Regions from separate parts of the Homo sapiens genome. Here region 2 is linked to region 1. Evidence: promoter capture Hi-C in 16 types of primary human blood cells and fetal thymus (Javierre and others, 2016). All regions are on one chromosome and are shown on one strand. The core of a region is centred on a gene start or on the middle of the fragment in contact, and the rest is flanking DNA. Distances in the headings are between cores, read along the strand shown.

Evidence for each region. Contacts are between HindIII fragments. The CHiCAGO score rates a contact against its expected background, and 5 or more counts as called.
Region 2: a contact is called between a fragment that was not itself captured here and the fragment with the promoter of MORC1-AS1 in region 1, in 1 of 17 cell types (M2 macrophages). The highest score is 5.8, in M2 macrophages.

The regions. Positions count from the first base shown.
Region 1 is chr3:109,099,493-109,103,833 of GRCh38, forward strand. MORC1-AS1 (MORC1 antisense RNA 1) reads left to right here and starts at 1,964. Exons shown (of 3, transcript NR_144461.1): 1 at 1,964-2,067. It overlaps MORC1 (MORC family CW-type zinc finger 1), which reads right to left. Exons shown (of 28, transcript NM_014429.4): 5 at 925-1,015. The HindIII fragment of the contact is 2,885 bases long and covers 1,008-3,892 here.
Region 2 is chr3:109,022,417-109,026,757 of GRCh38, forward strand. All of the region lies in intron 17 of MORC1 (MORC family CW-type zinc finger 1), which reads right to left. Among named protein-coding and RNA genes, the nearest start is that of GUCA1C, 71 kb to the left of the region's middle. The HindIII fragment of the contact is 1,348 bases long and covers 1,427-2,774 here.

The DNA.
Region 1 (4,341 bases), core at 714-3,213:
TTTTACACCTCAAATACTAAAAAGGAAGAAACAGGCAGACTGTTATCACCGTGTACTGTAACAGGATGTTCTTTCCAACACTCTGTTCTGCTGACCCGTCATCAAGAGGGTACAATTTTTTTTTTTTCAAAGTAAAGCAGAAGAATTTGAACTAAGCCAGCTCCACACTCTTGCTTGAGGTTTGGCTGCAGGGGAAAGGGTCCATTCAGGGCTCAAAAGAACAATCATCTGTCTCAGGTAGGAGCCGTACAAGTGAGCCTCATGTCCTGACCTTTCAATGCAGCATACTAAAACAAAGAGCTGCAGACACAGCACCTAGGTTAAAATATGCTTTGGGAAACAACAGAACATAGAGATGCAACAAAGCACTAAAGTACAGGGGTACCGCTTCAGGAATCTTTGAAAGAGGATTTATTTTATTATTTGGGAGAATTAACCTAAAATGTTGTAAAGATAAAAGTCAGTTATGGGCCGGGCGTGGTGGCTCATGCCTGTAATTCCAGTACTTTGGGAGGCCGAGGCGGGCTGATTACTTGAGGTCAGGAGTTCGAGACTAGCCTGGCCAACATGGTGAAACTCTGTCTCTACAAAAATACAAAAATTAGCTGAGCATGGTGGCTCATGCCTGTAATCCCAGCTGCCCAGGAGGCTGAGGCAGGAGAATCACTTGAACCCAGGAGGCGGAGGTTGCAGTGAGCCAAGATCGCACCACTGCACTCCAGCCAGGGTGACAGAGTGAGAATCTGTCTCAAAAAAAAAAAGTCAGTTTTGTATATGGAGATTCCAACACAAAGTAGGTCACCCCTGCCTCAAGTTTATATATTTTTTAAAGCTTTACATGCCTGCATCATTCTGTGTAAATTGCTTTATAAACAGTGTTCCCAGTATCAATAATATATGTCTTAAGGGAAAAAAAATTCTCACCTTTTAAGACCATTGCCGTATTGCCCTATGAACTTCAAGGTTGACAGCCGTTTTTTGGATCGTCCAAAGTAAATGATGTCTGAAGCTTCCTCTGTAATTGACAGTGACTTTTAAGGTGGTTAGGAAGACTCTTTGACACTGGCCTGAGGCCCAGCTGTCAGGACCTCACATTCCTCAGAACATCAGGACAAACCCATAGCTCTTGGGTCAGCCCAGAGACAAGGATTTTCATCAGAATCCACAGTCTCTGACAAGGGTCTTAATGGTATTACAGTCAGCCCAAGGTACGGCAGGCTCCACATTCATAGACTCAACTAATCTTGGACTGAAAATATTCAGAAAAAAATAAATTGCGTCTGGACTGACCACGTACAGACTTTTTTTTTGTCATTATTCTCTAAACAACAAAGTATAACAACTATTTAATAGCATTTACACTGCATTGGGTATTATAAGGAACCTGGAAAAGATTTAAAGTATACAGGAGGATATATATAGGTTATACGGAAATACCGTGCCATCTTCTTTCCACAGCTTTTGGTATCCTAGAAAGGTCCTGGAATCCATTCCCTACAGATACTAAGAAACAACTGTATACTGAAAGAGATGAGACAGACCTAACCATGTGGCCTTAGGTAGAGTTTAAAAGTCTGAGCCTTAATTTCCATGTGGTGTAAGAGGCAACTACGTAATACTTATATCACGGTGTTGCTGATGAAGATAAATGAAACAAATGAAATGAGATGATGTATTTGTGAAATCCTGAACACAAAACTTGGCACTTGGTGGGTGTTACCAAATTACAAGTGTTATAATTACTTGTACCACTAGTAATTTCCCCACGAATTTAGCCCTTAACCAGGCCCATGTGAGACTAAGAGGGGCAGGATGACCTCTGCTCTGATACTACCTGGGAAAGAAGGCTAACCATTTCAGACGTTCCAAATCATTCTCCCGACCTCTCCAGGTATTCTGGAATTCTAGACAGTAATCCTCTGGACTTCAGAATATATTAATACCAATCTCCAGAACCAAGAATGTTCTTCTTGTTGGCCTACCTGAATACATGCTGAAGAATTGTCCTGAGGACCCTCTGTCAGTCTGGGTACAGATATGCTATAGTTCAGTGGCACATGGTATGAGGTGTGTAAAAGCCACCAAACATTCTGCTTCTCTGAAACTAACTGGACCTCCTATGATATGTTCCTATGAGGGGTTAGGCATTAGGTAAGGATATCCATAATGACAATCTTAGCTAACACTTATTGATTGTTTAGTATATGCTAGGTACTATGTTTATACTTACATGCACAGCTTATTTAATATTTATAACAAAACAAGAAAGGTATTATTACTATGACCTGCATGTCACAGATGAGCAAATGTAAGTCTAAGGAGTTTTAAAAACCTGCCCAAGGTCACAGAGCTGATAGAGGGTACAGCTAGGATTATAACCCAAAGTTCTAAGTCTTGGTACAGACATGGTATAGCTCTGAACCAAATCCCATGTGTTCATTACACACTACATGAACTCACGTGCATGGTTACCCGGTTCTGAGCATGGGAATAAACCACTGAACAGGCCAGGCATGGCTCCTGCCTTGGACAACACTATGTCATGGTAGGAGAAACAGATTGAAAGTAAACTAATAAATAAGATCATTTCTGACTGAGTATTAAGTGAAGAAAACAAAACCAGGGTAATGCGATAGAGAATTAACAGGAACGTGGCCTGCAGACAGAATGATCAGGGAAGGCCACTGGCAGATGGTTAACATGAGATGGATTCAAACGATGAGGGGTCAGCCATGTGTGGGTGGAGTGTTCTAAGGGAGGAAGTGGGAAGAACAAGAAAAGGCCAAAGAGGTGCATAGGGCCAAATAATGTAAGGTCTTGGAAGAGATGCTGAGAGTACAAATTGTATTAAGTAATGGAAAACCACTGAGGGTTTTCAGCAGGAAAATGATATTAATGTACATTTTCAGCAGGAAAATGTACATTAAAAGAAAGAAAATCACTCAGGATGCTGTGTGGGGAATGGACTATAAAGGGGCAAGACTAGAGAATTTTTTAAAAACCCGGAAAGTACTGTAGTCATTTTCTATGGGTCAAGATTGATCTAGCTCCGTTTGAACAACGGATAGATTCTACTTTTAGTCATCTTCCTTCTACTTTATTACTAGTTGATGCTACTATGTAACTGAAGTGTGAGTTCCTTCTGAAGGTCTGAATATCCGTCACTTGTCTGTGTTTCAAACATTTTGTTCATGACCCATATAAAAAGAGTTGCTTCTTTTCATAAGGAATTCCCTTAGAATATATCACATATATTCTGTCATTTATTTTAGGAATTCAAAAAAATGAACTTAATATTCAGGCTAGAAGTGAAAAATTACTTTTTTCAGCATGGGTTTTTTCTGTTGTTGTTACAAACTCTTCTTTCTCATTTAAACAATAAAAGACCAAGAATACTTTTAATCAAAATGACCTGGAAAAATCAAAATTATCCGAAGTCAGAACAAAACTGGGTGAAACAGTCTTTCTAAACTTGCTAATACTCTTCAACTATTCAGACCAAGGGGAAACTTCAGAGCTGAAATAAGATATTTGCCATACCTCATATCTTCAGCTTCTATCAGCAAATCAATATTTGAGCATACTGATGCATCCTTTCCTCAGTTGTGGAACTGACCATGGCAGTTCCATATTACTGAACTCTCACCATTTTTTAAATCTAGTGGTCAAAAACCCTGGCTTGTGGAACACACCATGTTTAAAGAATTCAGAAATACAATACCTAAAACAACCCAATGCCCTCAGATGGAATCACATTTCAATTTCACAGCACACAGACACTGTATACCCATAATGTGCTGGCTTTGTGCTAACCTTGAATACACAAAGATAAGTCATGAAATATATTGTAGATGTATTCTTTATGATGGGAACATTCATTTGAAGCAAGTAAAGCTTTCAAAATGCAGAGGAAAAAACAAGGCTAAAAACAAGGAGAGGAAACCTCTACCTCGAGGTTAAGCAAAATTAAAAATAGCCTACAGGCACAGGAAACTGCCTGGGGCTCTCACAAGCAATACCTAAAGGATGAGCTAAAAACAATCTCAGAGTCTATTCAGTGACTATTTGTTTTCCATTCATTCCCAGATGCTTATTTCTTACAATCAGTAACATTTGCCTTTCATTTTTCTGACAATATTAATATACATTTACTTTTTGTCTTGGTTTAGATGGTTACAATAAATTTACTCTGCCAGCTGGGATACTTAAACCTAAAAAGTTCAACAAAAAGTCTGGGGCTTACTTTCTTTAATAGCTCCATACCTGTTTTTGCATAGATAGCTCAATTTATTTATTTTGTAGGTTTTCAGACTGTTTCCTTTAACAGCCAGTTAGGTATCT
Region 2 (4,341 bases), core at 851-3,350, 77 kb before region 1:
AAACAATCAATGTGGGAATTGCCAGATTATACTATTTCATTTCTGTCTGTATGTGTGTCCACATGAGCACTGAAGAAGAACAGAATTCTATTGCTGGAGTTTCTTCTCACCAGGCATGAAGTCTTATAAATGCTATATATTTGATGGGATGACTATGAACATGACGAATGAAATCCAAATGCAGTCTCTGTACTCCAATCCAAATACAACAGTTTATTGTGACCAGGTATAAGAACATTTTGGTCTTCAGTAATATATGCAGAAGTTGGTCAGCCTAACCTATGTAGAGTCAACCAATCCAATCAAATATAAAATATTCACCTTTCAGGAATTCTGCATAAATCAAATTATTCTTTCCATCCTTCATTGTTTGCTAAATACCTATTACATGAAAGCTGCAGGCCTAGGTACTATTGGGAATGCAAAGATGAAGAGAAATAGTCCTTTATTTCAAAAAGCATATAGTCTGATATGGCAGACAGATGAGACACATAAGTAACTATAATATTAGACATAAAGTGACTATAATACCAGGTAGAAGTAAAACATGCTCTAAGAAAAACCACATGGGACAAAGGGAACTGGAAGGAAGAAGGTACTTTTCTAAGTAGGTAAATGAAAGATACTTTTCTAAGTAGGTAAATGAAGGAGATACTTTTCCAAGTAGGTAAATGAAATGAAGGAGATACTTTTCTAAGTAGGTAAATCATACAGGGATTGGCAATAGTTTTGGATCTTGAAGGACTGGAGAAGGACCAGAGGCTGCTCCAGACAAGAATGCACAAACAAAGGCCTGCAGAGCCACATGGAAGTGAACACTTGTAAGAAATATGGAGAAGCTCAGTAGCAGCACCATACAGAGTGAAAGAAACGAATGCTATTATATTAATAGAAAGGCAACTAGTGTCAGATTATAGACAGCCTGGGCTGTAGGCCAAGAAATGTATAGTAAATACAAAAGATTAATTCAGAAAGACCTAGGGGACACATAAGCAATTCATCACACATTGCAGAAATATATTGATTATGCAAATACACTACTCATTAACATTACTTAGGTATAAAGGGGTAAATATAGGGTAGCTTAATTCAGGGAGAAAGGTATGATCTGTCTTTTAATGATTGAGGGTATTAAGTGGATTTTAGATGGTACCATAAAATCCTGAATAAAGTGTAACTAAAACTAGATTCTGTGTGCATGATAATGACACAATCATCCTTGTCACACAATAGAAGGTAGAAGAGAAATTTTAAGTTAAATCTGAGAAAGAGGCAAATTTGAGAACGGAGAGGTCCTGAAATACAGAGAAATTTATTTTATAACATTATGGTTTTTAAATTATTGCCTAGGTTTACCAAAAAATAACAATTATCCAGCTAATATGCCAATTACAACTGAGCAATCCAGTGAAACAATAGAAATAAAAGCTTCATCACTTGGCCAGCAGGTGGCACTTGTCACTCGGTATAGAAAACAGCAGGTAATGTGGAATGAAGCTGAAAGTAGTTAGAAACAGATTACTTATTCATCTATTCAAAAGGATAAAGATGGGGATGGGTTGTATTCAGAAGCACAATTTATAACAAGGATCTTGGCTTGTTGACATAGCTTATCAATTACATGGAGGACAACCCCTTTAGTCTATAAAATGCACCACAGGTGACAGATCTTGAATTTGAGCTCTCCTATTAGGTTTACTGAACTTAGGTATTTCCCTTAACAAATATGATTTGCAATATATAAGTTTGTTGCTACTGTAAATGTTCTTATGTCCTTTTTGTCTGTATTTTTCCTATAAGACTGCGAGAAATATGGTGCTGGAATTGGGCAAAAAGGAAATAAATTCCAACTTCACCATTTAAAGTTACGTGCTTTGATTAAAATTATTTTTAACTTTTTTGGATTTCACTTTCCTCTTTGTTAAAATAGATATAACTAGCTGGAATGTTGTAGGAATTAAATAAGATACCATGTGGAAACGATACCTTTAGATCTAGCTACTTCATTTTCTCCTATGGGACAACATCTAATAATTAGGATAACTCTCTTACCATCTAATCATTAGATACCCATAGAACCTAAAATCCAGAAAGATTTTTGATTTACCTGGTCAACCTTTCATTTTCCAGATCAAGATGCCTGCTACCATTAAAGCTGAAATGCAAGAGAGTTAAGAGATAGGGTGTGCAGGTTTAGGTCATTTTTATATTCACTACACAGGTCTGGTCAATGGATAAGTGGTCATTGGGAGTGGGATGGAGGAAGAGAAAACAGGAGGTGGGCAAATAATAATTACATGGCATATATTGTATGATTCTGTGATACTGAATGGGTGAATGGACACCAAAAATAGACATACAGTGAATCATAGTAATAAACTAGCCAGTTCTTGATTTTTTCAGTGATGTCTAGCCTATATTTGAAACTGAATGGGGCCAATGATGGCCTGTTTTTCTAGCTTTCCCATCCTTTCTTATCTCACATTCCAAAACTACTTCTAAAGGGTTTTAGAATGAGGACAGGAAATTTACACTGAACATTGCATGGTTTTTAGTCTTAGTTTTGACATCAGATAAATATCACCAAAACATAGTTTCTGAACATGTTCATGGATTATTTTTGTGAAAGGAGGAATCAAGGTCATCTTTCAGAGGTCTTCTGTTCAGTAATTACCATATTATAACTATATGGGAGTTGCATCATTGTAACAAGTCACACCATTTTTAAAAGAGAGATGCCACACAAATACTGAGTTTAATTTTTAAAATATGAAAGCTTAACATGTAATTTAAGTGACTGGTTCCATGAAAGAACAAATCAGTGTTCAGCTCCAAGTGTTCCTTTAGGTTGTTTTTCTCACCTGAAATGCCCTATCCTTTTCCCTCTATTTATCCTAAATAGACTTCAAGATACAAGTATCACTTCCCCTATATAACTTTCTTTGGTTTCTTTTTCTTTTTTCTTTTTTTTTTTTTTTTTTTTTTTTTTGAGACAGAGTCTCATCTTTCCCCCAGGCTGGAATGCAGTGGCGTGGGCTCACTGCAACTTCTGCCTCCCAGGTTCAAAGGATTCTCCCACCTCAGCCTCTGAAGTAGCTGGGATTACAGGCGTGAGCCACCACACCCAGCTAATTTTTTGTATTTTCTGTAGAGATGATGTTTCACCATGTTGGCCAGGCTGGTCTCAAACTCCTGACCTCAAGTGATCTGCCCATCTCAGCCTCCCAAAGTGCTGGGATTACAGGTGTGAGCCACCATGCCCAACACCCCTATATAACTTTCTTTGATTGAAGCTGCCCTCACTATCTCCTGCAGTAAACTTCTATTGCAGTGTCAGTTACAATAAGAAAACACATGTGAATTAATATTACTTTATAGTGGTTGCTCATTTTTAAATAGCTGTTAGACTTGATCCACAAAAAGACTGTATAATATCTGACGGCATGTTTTACTTATTGATTCAACTACCTATTGAGTACCTGGTATATGCCAGGCACTGTTTTGGTTAATACAGATTCACAGTAAGTAAAACCAACACTACCCCTGCTCTCACAGAACTTACATTTTGGTATTACAGATACTCTGTATTTCCCATAATTCCCAGCCTGGGACAGACCTGAGGGCAAGTATGTGCTCAATGATCACCTCAAAATTAACTGGTTGCCTTTGGTTCAGTGAACCACAACCCAAAGCTTTCCTTGGTTACCACAAAAGCAGGGTCAGTTACAAGCCCTGAGTACCAGAAAGTATGTAAAAGATGTTAGGAATCTTTTCACAAAAAGATTTTGTAAAATCTTCCTTTTGCAAAAGGAAAAAGGAGGATGGAGTGGATTCTTATGTCCTTTGAAGTACTGGCAGTGAATTTCTATATAAGTACTGCTAAATTTCTTTGTTTACATTTGAAACAAACTGGATCTATAACCTTGGCTTAAATCTTATGAAAAAAAATCAACTACCAACAAAAAAGAATAAACAGAACTGTTGGCCCAAATCTGCTATTCCACCAGCTGCCATCAGATTCTCTACCTCAATGATGAACACAACATCCAATTCTAAACAAACAACAAGCTAATTAAGTCTTGATGATTGGCATTATTAGTATACTGGGGTTGGCTATCACTGCTATAGAAAAGAAAAACAATGTCCAGAGATGGCAATAAAGATGCAATCAATTCATAATGTGCTGAATGCCTTCACAAAGCTACCAAGTGTGGTAAATAAGAAACAAAATTAAAATATTTCATAACAAAAAGATCTGAATGTACCTAATTATTTATTAAAAGTCTGTGAAACCTTTATTTCTGACTTTTGTCTGACAAGAAACCATGACTAAAGGCCTTA